2 separate regions of the Homo sapiens genome follow, and region 2 is linked to region 1. Evidence: promoter capture Hi-C in human tissues and cell types (Jung and others, 2019). All regions are on one chromosome and are shown on one strand. Each heading gives the region's core, a stretch centred on a gene start or on the middle of the fragment in contact. The rest is flanking DNA. Distances are from core to core; before and after follow the strand shown. Region 1 holds the start of KCNK18 (potassium two pore domain channel subfamily K member 18). Region 2 has its middle 24 kb from the start of LINC02944.

Region 1 (2,700 bases), core at 146-2,645:
CCACAGCTGCCATCTGAGGCACTTTTTATCCCCACTGGTTGTCAAATGATCCTTTATTGAAATATTTTCCTTTGTGCTTAACAAGCTGAGCATTCCACTGCACCACTGTTGATGTCATGAGGGTGGTGACCATCAACATTGCAGCCCACAGATGGTGCAGTCCCCGGGATCTTTTTAATTGTTCCAGAGAGTTCCCTAACTAAAGATTGGAGCTGCATCTGTCAGGCAATGTTGACATTCTCATCAAATGATATTTTCATTGGGTTTAATGTTTTTCTGTTTCTTTCTGTCTCCTGGAGGTTCCTTGAGGGCTTTGATGATCAGGGCAGAGGCAGAAGGTACTACCTCAATCTATGCCTGCCTGTTCTGAATGGTTTCACTGTAATCCTCAGATCCTTCAAATCACCGGTTGCCCTAACGATGTCATTACCAATGTGTTTTGGAGACAGACACAGGGGTTTGATCTTAGGGGCCAGCACAGATGTGGCACCAACATCATTCCCGGTGCATCTCAGACTTTAATCTCGTTGGGGTCAAACTTAGGCTGTATGGTGGAGGTAGGTGGTGTTGGATGAACCTGGATTCAGGACCACCAAAGAAAGTTGCACATTGGTCTACTCTGAGCTGAAAATTGAAAGGTGGGGCACCTTTTCTCATGGCAGACACAGGCATAGCTAAGCAAGTCCAAATGCACAAGCACAGGCCTAGCCCCTGCTTGCATCACATCTGCTAATGCCCAGCTGTCTGGAGCAAGTGAGATGACCTACCCTAAAGCCAAGTTCAAGGAAGTACACTCTGCCCACCGTGAGGCCCCAGCAAGGGGGGGTATGCAGCAGGGGAGTGAAGAATTGGGACCAATAATTAGATCCACACAGGATAAAGGTCCTTTGGAAACCATTGAGCTCTGGCCGCATTAGTTACTATGGTTACTGTTACTATTATAGGTTACTACTATTATCACCTGTCCAGAAGACCAGGTACCCTAAGCCAAGTTGTGTCACAGACAGCTCTCAGGAAAGAATCACTTGACTAAACGCCAAAGATCAGGTTTGGGATCTGCAATTCAAAACTGCAGTTTGGGCATAGAAAAGATTAAACGTAGCACAAAACAACAACCACACTATCCTCCCAAAGCCCCTTCCAGGCAGCTCCAGGGCCGGCCCAGCGGATCAATAGCAATCTGGGGTGCTAGGGAGGGCGCCATCTGAGTAGTTCGGAAGAACTGAACATGATGAGTTGCCGGCTGCTTCCTGAGTCCTTGGGGAAGCACACGCACCATCCACTTAGCACTGGAGCCTGGCTGTTCTCCGGGCACTCCTACCCCATCTTCCTGGCGGGGCTTAGATGCTCCTGCCTCTTCCACCAGCTCCTCTTGCCCTGCATGCTTCAGGGACGATGGAGGTCTCGGGGCACCCCCAGGCCAGGAGATGCTGCCCAGAGGCCCTGGGAAAGCTCTTCCCTGGCCTCTGCTTCCTCTGCTTTCTGGTGACCTACGCCCTGGTGGGTGCTGTGGTCTTCTCTGCCATTGAGGACGGCCAGGTCCTGGTGGCAGCAGATGATGGAGAGTTTGAGAAGTTCTTGGAGGAGCTCTGCAGAATCTTGAACTGCAGTGAAACAGGTAGGTGCCTCACCTGGACAGGGTGGGCCTTTTCTCCGTGGTGGCAGCAGTCCCCCAAGAGCAGAGGGCTGCCTTCTAGGAGGCTGGGTCTGGGAGCTGCCTGCCTGGATCCTCCTCATGCCTGGGCACTTTAAGCGAGTAACTTCTTTCTGAACCTCTGTTTTCTCCTCTGAAAAGTGGGGAGACTAACTGCCTCTCAGGGTTGCTGTGAAGAATGCAGGAAAGGCCCTGAGCACCCTGAGGTGCTCAGGAAAGACCAGCTCCCCTTCCTGTGCCTCAGCACCCAGCCCCATCCAGACCAGTGGCCTCAGGGGACGATGGATTACTGGGAATTTGGTGGGGTGGGGTGCATGGGTGAGCAAATCTGGGGCTGGGGTTGGGGGGCTAGCTTGCTTTTCAGAACTATGTCTGCCTGACCCAGGATTCAGTTTGCAGGGATGAGAATTTAGGGAACAACCCAAATTGGATTTAAATTCCAGCAGGAGCACCTGCCACCCACGCCCCCACTTCCTGTTTCAAACTCCTTTTCTGCTGTCTGGCTCAGCGGAGTGGGGAGGTGTTGTGAGAAGACCTGGGGGGAGGGGTGGGGGTCCTGGCTGTTGTCCTGGCTGCTCTCCCAGCTTGCTCTGCAATCCGTGGAGGCAAAGCTTTGTTCTCTCTGGGTCTCAGTCTGCGGGAGAGAAGGGGACCCCCAATCTCAGACTTGGTGGTCACAGGGACCCTGTGAGAAGCAGAGGAGACAAGGAACATTCTGGCTCTTGGAAGACAGAAGTCACTTTATAGTGTCCTCATTGCATTTTCTTCATATTTAGTCACTTGTTTCTACTCTGCTGTGTTCCTCGAAGGAAGCTTGTTATTGTATTCAACAGAGCAAGATAAAACAAGGGAGAGTAGATAAATGAAAAACAAAGGAAAACCAGACACTAAAAGTCAGGAGAAGAATGGGGTGCAGGGAGCCCCTCCCCTCCCACTCTGGTGTGGGGGCTCCTTCCACAGCCCAGACCTTGATTTGGGAACAGGTGCAGCTCCCAGAGACAAGAGGCCAGTCCAGGGAGGCAGAGTCTCCTGTCTGTGGAGGGTCC
Region 2 (2,700 bases), core at 148-2,647, 1.0 Mb after region 1:
TCAGTGACCAGGCCGCTGATAGCACAATGTGCTTTCTCACATGGAGAGGAGGCGAAGCTTCAGCATGTGAATTGTATTCTCCACAACATATGGTGGAGAAAACAGACAGTGGGAAGGGGAGTGATTTGTGACTGTTCATCCCAAACTGCGTTCTATTGTGTTGCCAAAAATGATAGACTTAAATAAATTGCTCTTTTTGGAATTTATACTCGTGCCTTATTCTCATTTTTTTAAAATGAAGAAGAAAATCCTCATGTCCATGTAGAAATTCCCATTTATTTATGTGGTTCCCTGGCCTGCCCCCTCCTCCCCCTGACTTCCTTACCCCAGCAGAGCCGAAGGCATTTTGAATATAGAAACTGCGTGTCCCCTTGCAGTCAAGATGAACAAGAAAAGGAGGTGACGTAAAAGGGGAGAGAAAGCAATTAGTGTGGAATCCTAAACTCCAGATTCTTCTCAGAAATTTTTATGGCTTTTCTTAGGCAGCCGAGGAGAGGCTGATTTACTTAGAGAAACTATTAAGCCTGGTGCAAATTAATTTTTGTTGGTCTACATCTTCTTTTTTAATTTTGTCAATTGCAGCGCCTATTGTTGTGAAAAAATTAGTACCTTAAAGCTGTCTAAACATAAATCTCATCTTCAATTTGTTAGCATTCAGCTGTGGTAAGAATAATTAGATGAAGTGTTTTTTAAGTATTATTTACAAATATGCTTGCAAAAGAATGGTTGAAACAGGCATTTTCTTTAATGGGTTTAAAGACAGACAAATGAAATTAATCAGGAGAGTCTTGCCCTTCTTAATTTTATGGTTTGTGACTGGGGGAGAGCAGCTTGCCACATCTCTGATACAGAGCAGTACTATGTGAGCGCATTGCAGTGCCCTGCAGAGAAGGAAGAGGCGAATTAGGTCAGGATAAGATTTAGAATGCCTGTGGATCCCAGAGACAGCATGGAAATGATCCAGGGGTCACGGGGGACCAGACACAGAGTCACATATATAACCCTGGATATAGATAAAGAAGTGAGGGGGTGGAGAGACATGCAGTACAAGATTGTAAAACTCCAAGTTTGGAATAAAACATCTGAGTTAAGTGTAAAACCCTAACAGTGGGCAGTTCTGTTTCTACCAATGAGGAGTGGTGTGAGATACATCAAAACAGAACCACAAAATTTACAGCAGGTTGAAAACCACCAGACAGGAGGAGGAACAGCAGTGGAGCAGTGCAGAGATGCAGGGCATAGGCTGGTTTAGGCTTCTCCAGAGACCAGGGAATGTCCCTCTTCCTGGGAGAGCCATTGCCAATGCAGATGTCAGAACTTGGGCAGAGGACACGATCACTTGTGCCAATTGGGTTAGCCTCTTCACCCTGATGTCCGCAGGTGGGCTTTGCCCATCTTTCCAATTAGTCCCACACACTTCCTCTCTGTTTTCTATGCTCCAGCCAAACTAGACTGGTCCCTGTTCCCCCAAAACCAGACCGGCTGGAAAAAGCATCTTCCCACCCATCTCCAAGTGTACAAATTGTTCTAATGGCCACTCCTCGCACGAAGCCTTTTCTAAACTCCCTAGCCAGATTTTATCATTCATTTGAAATTCCCTCCCACACCATAACTTTGAAGCTTCCTTTACTTTTTGCCTTCTAGACCTTGCATACCGAACATTTCCATGGCAAGAACTGACTTGTGGCAAGTGCTTTGCATGTATTATTTAATTTTATTCCCCCAGCCATTATTCCTATCTTACAGATGAAGAAATTGAGGCACAGGGAAGTTAAGTAATTCTCTCCAAATAACACTGGTGAAATCAGCCAGGATTCAAACCATAAGCAAGTCAGCAAATGGCCGAGCTCTTAATCATAGCAACTTTACTATGTAAGAAATTGCCGTGACAAATTTGCAGCCTACCTTCTAATCGTGTGTGGAATACCCTGTGGCAGGCATCTTGAGTATCAACCTTCTCCTTTGTCATAGTCCATTCAGCATGCTACAATAAATACCTTAGACTGGGTAATTTATGAACAATAAAAATGTATTGCTCACAGTTCTTGAGTCTGGAAAGTTCCAAATCAAGGCTATAGCAGATTCAGTGTCTGGTGAGAGGCCGTCCCTCATAGACAGTGTTTTCTATGTGTCCTCGAACGATGGAAGGGACAAGGTTCTCTGGGGCTTCTTTTATAACAGCATTAGTCCCATTCACAGGGTACAGCCCTTATGACCTTATTACCTCCAAAGACCCCACCTTTTAATACTGTCACTTTGGTGATTAGGTTTCAACATATAAATTTCAGGAAGACACATTTAGACCATAGCACCTTTGTGGGTTTTTTTTTTAATTTATTTTTATTTTTATTTATTTATTAGTTTATTTATTTATTTAGACAGTCTCACTCTGTCACTTAGGTTGGAGTGCAGTGGTGTGGTCTCAGCTCACTGCAACTTCTGCCTCCCAGGTTCAAGCAATTCTCCTGCCTCAGTCTCCCAAGTACCTGGGACTACAGGCACCCAGCACCATGTCTGGCTAATTTTTGTATTTTTAGTAGAGACAGGGTTTCACCATGTTGGCCAGGCTGGTCTCAAACTCCTGATTTCCAGTGATCCGCCTGCCTCAGCCTCCCAAAGTGCTGGGATTACAGGCGTGAGCCACTGTGCCCAGGCGCACCCTCGGTTTTATTTGGCAAGCTCTTTTCCTTGTACTGTTCC

What was found. Contacts are between HindIII fragments. The study calls those that stand out against the background at their distance.
Region 2: a contact is called between a fragment that was not itself captured here and the fragment with the promoter of KCNK18 in region 1, in 1 of the 25 tissues and cell types used here (spleen).

What each region holds. Positions count from the first base shown.
Region 1 is chr10:117,196,094-117,198,793 of GRCh38, forward strand. It overlaps KCNK18 (potassium two pore domain channel subfamily K member 18), which reads left to right and starts at 1,396. Exons shown (of 3, transcript NM_181840.1): 1 at 1,396-1,618. The coding sequence starts at 1,396. It also overlaps the pseudogene RPL12P26. The HindIII fragment of the contact is 5,609 bases long and covers 1-2,700 here.
Region 2 is chr10:118,215,909-118,218,608 of GRCh38, forward strand. No RefSeq gene overlaps it. Among named protein-coding and RNA genes, the nearest start is that of LINC02944, 24 kb to the right of the region's middle. The HindIII fragment of the contact is 4,157 bases long and covers 1-2,700 here.